2 separate regions of the Homo sapiens genome follow, and region 2 is linked to region 1. The links are contacts of gene promoters, found by promoter capture Hi-C in human tissues and cell types (Jung and others, 2019). All regions are on one chromosome and are shown on one strand. Each heading gives the region's core, a stretch centred on a gene start or on the middle of the fragment in contact. The rest is flanking DNA. Distances are from core to core; before and after follow the strand shown.

Region 1 (5,258 bases), core at 130-2,629:
GGGAAGTGAGCACAGCGCAATATGTATGAAGTTGTATGCGTGCCCATCTGAGGCTTTCTTCCCTTTTCCGATAGAGTCCCCCTGAAAGGTCATACTCCCCGATTTTGTCTCTTAATGCATATGCCCAGGAAGTTGCTTCTCCCTGTCACCTGCATTCAACGAGCACTTTAGTGCAACAGGTGTGGGCCATCAGGAAATGGCCTCTCCCTGGCACCGGCTGCCAATTTATCACTTTTAGAGGCAATGTGATAAATGCCTAAGCATCACCCCACATTCCTAGTGGGTGAGGGAAGAGCCCTCTCCTGCCCTGCTCATGCCTAACTACCTGTAACAAACCTTGTAAACATTAAGCCAGCCACCAAAAGACCATATAATTCCGTTTATATTAAATGTCCAGATTAGTTAAATCTAGAGAGACAAAGTAGGTTCTTGGTTGGCTAGGGCTGGAGGAGTTGGGAGGATCAGGGGTGATAGCTAAAAAGTACAAGTTTCTTCTTTCGAGTGGTAAAAATGCTCTCAAATAGTGGTGATGGTTGCCCAAGCCTGTGAATATACCAAAAATCACTGAACACTTCAAATGGGTGAATTATATGGCATGTGATTACAGTCTAATAAATAAATAGTATGTCCTGCTGTATCCTTCAGGGCCTCTGAGAAATGGAGAGAGCTCCATCTGAAGCCAGACTGAGTTCCGATCCTGCTTCTATTTTCCCCGCAGGTAAATCCTTCCTCAACAGCAACACGGGGTGATACGCCCTATCCGGAAAGGTTGTTGTAATTTTTAAAAACATTAAAAACATACATTAGGGTTAATCATGTAGCGTGTGATACACAGACGCTCTGAAACACTACTGCACACGCACACCAACATGGGGCCTCTGCGGAGCTTGTGAAAGAACCAGATCTGGAGGGCTGGTCGTGTCCCTGGTCTCGGCCCTCGCCCTCCTTGTTTCTTAGGCTCTAAAGCAATCAGGCAGCAGAGCAGTCCTTGAACCCCAGTCAAGAAAAAGCCCTGCACCCCTTAGTCCGAAAGCCGCAAGGAACGGGGCCTAAGCGCCTGGCGAGGCCGCCCTACCGGGCAGAGACAGTTGCTACGTAACTCGGGGACCAGAAACCCAGCCCCACCCGCTGCGGTTAACCGACAGCCGCAACGGTTCCCGCACCGCCCGGGTCGGAGAACAATGCTGCGCCCTGCACGTAGAGCCTCGCGGTGCCGCGCCCTGGGGCGGGCCTGCCCATGGCCTGCCGGGAAATGTAGTTTCTGATGCCCTGCCCGCGCCGCCTCGCCGCTCGCCGGCCGGGCGCCCCAAGCAACTACAACTTCCATCACGCTCTGCGAGGCCTTGATCTGCAGGCTTTTGCAGGGGAAGGAGTGGGGCGAACATGGCTGAAGGAAGCCGAGGTGGCCCTACGTGTAGCGGGGTGGGTGGCAGGCAGGACCCAGTCTCCGGCAGTGGCGGCTGCAACTTTCCAGAGTATGAGCTTCCCGAGCTAAATACGCGCGCTTTCCATGTGGGCGCCTTTGGGGAGCTGTGGCGGGGCCGTCTGCGCGGGGCCGGGGACTTGTCGCTGAGGGAGCCGCCGGCATCCGCTCTGCCTGGGAGCCAGGCAGCTGACTCCGACCGGGAGGATGCCGCGGTGGCCAGGGATCTGGACTGCAGCCTGGAGGCGGCGGCTGAGCTGAGGGCGGTGTGCGGGTGAGTGCGGAGCAAAGGGGCTCTTGCAGCTTGGGGTCAAACAGGGTGCAGCCTTGCTCGTGCGCTCCTCTGGGACTCATCCCTGAGAAGGGCCTGTGGTTTAGACCTGGGCTAGGAGTATTACCCTTTAAAGCTTTCAACCCGCTGGAGCCTTCCTGGGACACCAGGAGAAGTCCTGGGACCCGAATGCACAGTTTCTACGAGTTGGAGCAAAGGGACAAGACAGCTGCATCAAAGACTAGTTTTTCCATTTGCTTATTCTAAGAGTGCTTGTTAATAAAGAAAAGCAATCAGGGCAACAGCGACGTGTACCTGCCATTGACAGACACTTTGACAATGGAGGAACCTGAGTAATGGTGAAGCTGCGGGAGACTTCATCAGAGGAGTGTTAAAACCCCGACTAACTGGTTTCTTTTGGGGACCTTCCGGGTATTCTGTTACTGAAATATTTCTTAAAAGTGCCTTATTTGGGGATGAAAATATAAAAATAACTTTAATCTCTTTCTCCATTTAACAGTACTGGCTGCCTTCATCGGCCTTTTCATTATAAAATATAATCACAGAAATCGTTGTCTTAAGTTCTGGCCTCTCTGAGCCGCCTGCTGGATTTTATCTGACTTCGTAATTCAGTAATGTATTTAGGAAAACAACCCTAACTCGCTGTGAACCAGATGCAGAGTCGACCTTAAAGTATTGCTTTTCCTTTTTGTTTTAGCCTTGATAAACTGAAATGCCTTGAGGACGGTGAGGATCCAGAAGTCATTCCGGAGAATACTGACCTGGTGACTTTGGGGTATGGAGGACTTGGTTTTTATGACCTATTTATTTAAACATTTTTTCAACATTATGTTTTGAAAAGTTGAAAGTGCAGTATTGATTGTTGTCTGTATACCCACCCCTTAAATTCAGCTGTTCTTAATATTTGACCATATTTACTTTAGCCGTGTGTATGGGATGCCTGCTGTGTGTTTTTTCATTTTGCTATCCCCCATTCAGTAAGTTAGACATGATAATTTACCCGTAAATACATAAGCATATAGCTTCTAAAAGTATCATTCTCCTACATAATTATTGTGGTATTATTATACCTAAGAAAACCGTAAATACATAATCTATAATATTCAGTCCATATTCAAACTTGTGTTTATTTTTTAATATTTTTGAATGTTTGTTTATAGAGGTAATCTACTTAGATCTGGGGGGCAACCTAAATACTCTGACAGTGTTTTTCAAACTATTTGTGGTAAAGGACAGTTCTTGTTTTTAAAAATTTTTAATCTTTGACAGATTTATGCTTTGATAAAATACTATAAAAAGAATTACTAGAAAAATGGAATTAAAAAAGACAAACACAATATAAGTTCAAATTTTTAATTAAATTCAATAGACAAAATTATTCAATGATAATGGAAGTTTCTAAATGCTTACTGTCATTTTCTGTACAGATTGGTTAACAAATAGGTCATAGATGAATTCTGGTCTGCCTACCACTCTTTGAGAGGCACTGTTGTATGATAATATAGAGAAATTGTGCATGTAATAGTGAAATTTATAATTTCCAATTTATAGTCCACTTATTTCATACTACCTCAGCTATGTTCTGTCGTTCTTGATCCTACGCTATTATCCCCCTCAAATATTCAGGCAGTCATTTCAACTCTACTTGGGTTTTCTTTCATAATAACTGCTAAATCTGTTCCCCTGGTCCCTACTGCTGACTTTTACAGCAGCAACACCTGGAGCACTGTGCAAGGTTCTTAAGTGTCTTTGATAAGTACAGTCATTTCTCCCACTGATTTATCCATCATGCTGTCGCCTGAGCAAGCCATTTTGCTTAAAAATGGTCTATGGCCCTACATCTCCTATATGGAAAAATTTCAAACTCCTTAGCTAGACATTTGAAGCCTTCCACATATATCCCAAATTTGCCTTTCCAGATTTATTTTCAACCACTTTCTCTTTCAGATGGCTCAGGATGCATGTGGCCTCTCTCCCATCTGAAACATACCACTTCTATGTTATGTTATGTTACGTTATTTTTTTGAGATGCAGTCTCACTCTGTTGCCCAGGCTGGAGTGCAGTGGCGTGATCTCTGCTCACTGCAACTTCTGCCTCCGGGTTCAAGCGATTCTCCTGCCTCAGCCTCCGGAGTAGCTGGGATTACCGGTGCCTGCACCCTCGGCTGCCTAACTTTTTTGCATTTTTTGTAGAGACGGGTTTCACCATGTTGGCCAGGCTGGTTTCAACTCCTGACCTCATGTGATCTGCCCAACTCGTTCTCCCAAAGTGCTAGGATTACATGCGTGAGCCGCCACACCTTGCCCATACCACTTTTTTAAAAGCCCAAAGATTCCTTTCCAGATTACCACAACCCATCTTTCCCTTAGGAAACAGATGCATTTATACTGCCTTAAACTCTTAACATTTCTAAAGTCCTTGAAGGCTCAATGAGAGTCCAAACTCCCATCTGTGTATTGTTCTCAAGCCTACTATACTGCCTTGCTCCAATTGGTGCTCTGTAACTATTGTTGATTGATTAGTTGTATTTGTCTAAAATGCACATCTGATTGTCACTCCCTTGCCTAAAACCTTTTGATGTCCCTTAGGCTGAAGTCCTGAGTCTGTAGTGGCTCACAAAGGCCTCTAAGGAGTGGACCTTGCTGTTTTCATTTTGTTTTGTTTTTGAGATGGAATTTCACTCTTGTTGCCCAGGCCTGAGTGCAATGGTGCGATCCCGGCTCACGGCAACCTCCGCCTCCTAGGTTCAAGTGATTCTCCTGCCTCAGCCTCCCAAGTAGCTGGGATTACAGGCATGTGCCACCACGCTTAATTTTGTATTTTTAGTAGGGACGGAGTTTCTCCATGTTGGTCAGGCTCCATGTTGGCCAACCTCTCGTGATCCACCCACCTCGGCCTCCCAAAGTGTTGGGATTACAGATATGAGCCACCGCACCTGGCCCGACCTTGCTGATTTTTTTTAAGCTTTCTCTCTGCAGTGTTCCAGCCACACTGCACTGTGTTTCAGTTCCTCGAATATGCTCTCTCACTCCAGGCCTTTGCCCAGAACAGTCATTCTTGCTTATCTCCTGACCTTGTTGACTTCTACTCATCCTGCAAGTCTTAGCTAAAGGACTACGGACTCCATTTAGGTCATCTTGTATGCTCATGTAGCACCCTATGCTTCCCTATTGAAATGCTCATCACATCTGTAATATACGTGTTTAATTTTCTGTCTTCTTAGCTACACTTGAAAGTTCCTTAAGTTACATCTGCCACACTCACTGCTATATTACCAATTCCTAGAACTGTGGTGCATAGTAGGGAGCCAACAAATATTTGTAGAATGAGTGGAATAAATGAAACTTTCAGAAGACTCAGGAAGTGATTTTTAGAGATAGACTGAAAAAAGAACGTTGATGATAATCATATTAAAGCAGACTCTTTTTTGCTATAGTTAATAATGTATTCATTGATTTATAGTAATTTTGTTAAGCCATGTTAAATAGTAATTTTAAGACTGCTTAAACATTATTTCCCTTGACTACTTTGCACTACTAGGT
Region 2 (4,954 bases), core at 220-2,719, 250 kb after region 1:
GGATGTTGAAGAAGAGAGTCTTATAAAGATTGGACTGGAGGAATTTTAACCTACTTGCTAACACTTAAGCTCTGAGTCTAACCTATATACTTTCCTAATTGGACCCCAAAGCAGTTTTTTTCCTTAAGTTTTGTTTTGCTGTTATTTGTATTTTGGTACTTGAAAATTTTTACTCAAATTTAGTATTCCAGTAAGCACCAACTGACAATTCTAAACATTAGTTACATATTCCAACTAGGCACTAGCTAACTAACACTCCTAATGCTTTAACATAATGTCCCTTATATCTTCTTCATCTGTATATAACTGTCATAATAATACAAGTTAAATAATAATAAATAAATAATGACAAGTAATAACTAAACCCAATAATCACTGAAAATTTCTGTGACTTTCCTTTTCCATCCCATCTTCCTTTTCCGTGTATGTGAAATGAAAGCCACTTCCATCCCTACTATCTGTAGTATAAGAAGGAATGATGTGACTTGAGGGATCTACCTGTACTTCCATTTTCCATTTTCTGCCTGTACTTCTGACCATACTTCAGAATCATCTTTAAAAAACCTTTTTTAAAGATGATTCTGAATTTTTTAAATATTTTTTAAAGAAGATTCTGAATTTCTGAAAAAAATTCTGTTGTTTCAAAGTAGTTCTAAGTTTTGGTTAATGTATTCCAAATAGAGAATTGATAGATTTTAGGTCTTTAAGGTAAATAATACCTTTAACTTACAACTTTGAGAATGTGGAGTTTTGGAGCAGTATATTGTTTTACCTGTTGTGAACTGACGTAGCAGTTTATCATGCTTGAACCTGCCATTGGTTAAGGTTCTTTAAGCTTCTGTTTCTTGCCAGGCAGACCTCGGCAGGATCTCACTAAAGGCAGGAGAAAAAAAGCTGTGTGTATATTGCAGAGTTATAGTTTTGGTCCATAGTTTCATAACAGTAGACATTCCTACATGAAATTATTTTAGATGGAATGTATATATTCCATAATTCTATAATCAAAATTTCTTAGAATAAATTTTTTTCCATCTAAAACTTGCAGTATGAAACCAAAGCTTTTCAATAATCTTTTGTTTTCTTTTTAAACATTTTTTATTTTTAATTATGGGTAAATAATAGTTGTACATATTTATGGGGTATGTGTGATATTTTTATACAAGCATACAATGTGTGATGATCAAATCAGGGTAATTGGGCTATCCATTAACTCAGGCATTTATCATTTATTTATGTTAGGAACATTCCAATTCCACTTTTTTAGTTATTTTGAAATATGTGATAGATTATTGTTAACTATAGTTGCCCTGTTGTGCCACCAAACACTAGATCCTGTTCCTTCCATCTAACTGTATTTTTGTACCCATTAACCATCTGAATTTTCAAATATAGTAAAGTCTTCATTAGCTGTGACAACTGATTGCTGGGCAATAGTAGGGAGAAAGAGATCATAGTAATCCTTAGGTATAGTTGAAACATAAATTTAATTTGAAACATCATTAGTCAAATATATCATGCTGAATGGACTGCATCTAAATTTATTTCTTAGACTCAATATTTAGGAATTTATTTTTCTAAATATATCACCCAAAAGGATAAACATATCAACGGTATTGTAACTTAGTAGCATTATTTTTGTTTACATTATATGTAAAACATAGTCCAAAGATGGCTATTTGTTAAAATACCCTGTTATTGTCAAATTCTTAGCTGAAGTCTTAAAAAAAAAAAAAAAAAAAAAAGAATGGGACTCCAGTAGGAAAGAAGGGATCCTAGCTACAAACTTACTTCTCCTCTCTTCCCTTTCTTGCCTAAATCCTCCACCTTTTAAGTCCTGGCCCTTTCCCATCAGAATTCAGAGACAAGGCATCTCCTTAACCTGCCCTACTCTTGCTCCACTTACTCCTTCTTGGTTGGGAGTTTAGCAGCATGGTAGGAGCCAGCTTTTTTGTCCGCCAGAATGCTCAACAGCAAGGTGTGTTCCCCCATTTCAGTGGACACAGTTTGGCCTTTATTTATAAAATAGTACCAAAAAAAAAGCTGTGTGTGTATTGTGTGTGTAATGACAGATGCACTTAATTATCTATTTTTTGAGTAACAGCAGTTTTTAACTAAAATCTTGATTTTATCAAATTAATACATGTACACAGTCTAATGAATAAAATGGTACTGTTAGGCTCATGAAAAACAGCAGTTTCATGCCCCATTGCTCTCTACTATCAGTTTCTACTCCTTTGATGCATCTACTTTCAAATCTTATTGCTGGTTCTTCTGATATTTGATTTCATATTTCTAAATAACAGGCATAGTATGCCATTTTTTTCAGTTTCTACCTTTAAATATCTATTGGCTTCTACTTATATATCTCTATTATATGCTTCTCCCACACCACAGACACTCCTTCCCTCTTCCCATCCTTTCCATAGAGTTATATTTTTGGGTTCAGCATACTTTATTTTTTCTACAGTTTAATTTTTGTTAACCCATCTTTTTTTATAGCACATTTTATTGTGTTCTTTGTTATTTATTGTCTGTCTTATGTAACAAGAAACTTTGTTTTGTTTATTGCTGTCTTGTCAGTGCCTAGAAAGGTACATAAGAGCTGCTAAATAAAGATTTATGGAATTGGGCTGGATGTGGTGGCTTATACCTGTAATCCCAGCACTTTGGGAGGCTCTGGTGGGAGGATTGCTGGAGGCCGAGGTGGGGGAGGATTGCTTTTGGTGGCGCATGTTTGTAGTCCCAGCTACTTGGGAGGCTGAGGTATAAGGATTGCTTATGCTGAGTAGTTCGAGGCTGCAGTGAGCTATGATCATGCCACTGTACTTCAGTGTGGGCGACCAAGTGAGACGCTGTCTAAAAACCAAAACAAAACAGAAAATACTTGCAGAATCAACAGATGAGAATAGTTAATAATTGCCTCATTTTAAACTGTATTAGTTCATGTGATTAACCAATCACTTATTAAATTATTTGTAAACACTAACAGAACCGAAAGTCTCTCATGTTCCTACACCTCAGAGACGCTATCATTTTAAATTTCTTCTAAGAGATGTTCCTCCTGGACTCTTCTGTCTACTTTTTCCAGTCTGGAAAAGTTTTTTTTTTAAATTTATTTTTATCTTTATTTTTTGGCCTTAAGTTCTAGGATACATGTATACAACGTGCAGGTTTGTTACATAGGTATACATGTGCCACGTTGGTTTGCTGCATCCATCAACTCGCTTACATTAGGTCTTCACATTAGGTCTTTCTCCTAATGCTATCCCTCCCCCAGCCCCCCACCCCCTGCCAGGCCCCAGTGTGTGATGTTCCCTGCCCTGTGTACATGTGTTGTCATTGTTCAATTCCCACCTATGAGTGACAACATGCAGTGTTTGGTTTTCTGTCCTTGTGATAGTTTGCTCAGAATGATGGTTTCCAGCTTCATCCATGTCGCTGCAAAGGACGTGAGCTCATCCTTTTTTATGGCTGTATAGTATTCCATAGTGTATATGTGCCACATTTTCTTAACCCAGTCTATCATTGATGGACATTTGAGTTGGTTCCAAGTCTTTGTGAATAGTGCCGCAATAAACATACATGTGCATGTGTCTTTATAGCAGCATGATTTATAATCCTTTGGGTATATACCCAGTAATGGGATCGCTGCGTCAAGTGGTATTTCTAGTTCTAGATCCTTGAGGAATTGCCACACTGTCTTCCACAATGGTTGAACTAATTTACACTCCCAACAGTGTCAAAGCATTCCTATTTCTCCACATCCTCTCCAGCACCTGTTGTTTCCTGACTTTTTAATGATCGCCATTCTAACTGGTGTGAGATGGTATCTCATTGTGGTTTTGATTTGCATTTCTCTGATGACCAGTGATCATGAGCGTTTTTTCATATGTCTGTTGGCTGCATAAATATCTTCTTTTGAGTAGTGTCTGTTCATATCCTTTGCCCACTTTTTGATGGGGTTGTTTGTTTTTTTCTTGTAAATTTGTTTAAGTTCTTTGTAGATTCTGGATATTAGCCCTTTGTCAGATGGATAAATTGCAAAAATTTTCTCCCATTCTGTAAGTTGCCTGTTTACTCTGATGATACTTTCTTTTGCTGTGCAGAAGCTCTTTAGTTTAATTCAATCCCATTTTGTCCATTTTGACTTTTGTTGCCATTGCTTTTGGTGTTTTAGTCATGAAGTCTTTGCTCATGCCTATGTCCTGAATGGTTTTGCATAGGTTTTCTTCTAGGGTTTTTATGGTTTTAGGTCTTACATTTAAGTCTTTAATCCATCTTGAGTTAATTTTTGTATAAGGTGTAAGGAAGGGATCCAGTTTCAGCTTTCTGCATATGGCTAGCCAATTTCTGAACACCATTTATTAAATAGGGAATCCTTTCCCCGTTTCTTGTTTTTGTCAGGTTTGTTGAAGATCAGATGGTTGTAGATGTGTGGTGTTATTTCTGAGGCCTCTGTTCTGTTCCATTGGTCTATATATCTGTTTTGGTACCAGTACCATGCTGTTTTGGTTATTGTAGCCTTGTAGTATAGTTTAAAGTCAGATAGCGTGATGCCTCCAGCTTGCTTTGTTCTTTTTGCTTAGGATTGTCTTGGCAATGTGGGCTCTTTTTTGGTTCCATATGAACTTTAAAGTAGTTTTTTCCAGTTCTGTGAAGAAAGTCATTGGTAGCTTGATGGGGATGGCATTGAATCTATAAATTACCTTGGGCAGTATAGCCATTTTCATGATATTGATTCTTCCTATCCATGAGCATGTGATATTCTTCCATTTGTTTGTGTCCTCTTTTATTTCCTTGAGCAGTGGTTTGTAGTTCTCCTTGAAGAGGTCCTTCACATCCCTTGTAAGTTGTATTCCTAGGTATTTGATTCTCTTTGTAGCAATTATGAATGGGAGTTCACTCATGAATTGGCTGTCTGTCTGTTATTGGTGTATAAGAATGCTTGTGATTT

The links. Contacts are between HindIII fragments. The study calls those that stand out against the background at their distance.
Region 2: a fragment that was not itself captured here is called in contact with the fragment with the promoter of SNAPC3 in region 1 in 1 of the 25 tissues and cell types used here (lymphoblastoid cells).

Annotation. Positions count from the first base shown.
Region 1 is chr9:15,421,497-15,426,754 of GRCh38, forward strand. SNAPC3 (small nuclear RNA activating complex polypeptide 3) reads left to right here and starts at 1,380. Exons shown (of 9, transcript NM_001039697.2): 1 at 1,380-1,697; 2 at 2,413-2,490. The coding sequence starts at 1,384. RefSeq lists a silencer at 1,107-1,396 and an enhancer at 1,737-1,856. The HindIII fragment of the contact is 4,082 bases long and covers 1-3,255 here.
Region 2 is chr9:15,668,233-15,673,186 of GRCh38, forward strand. The region is part of intron 9 of CCDC171 (coiled-coil domain containing 171); the gene reads left to right. Among named protein-coding and RNA genes, the nearest start is that of CCDC171, 120 kb to the left of the region's middle. The HindIII fragment of the contact is 3,605 bases long and covers 1-3,272 here.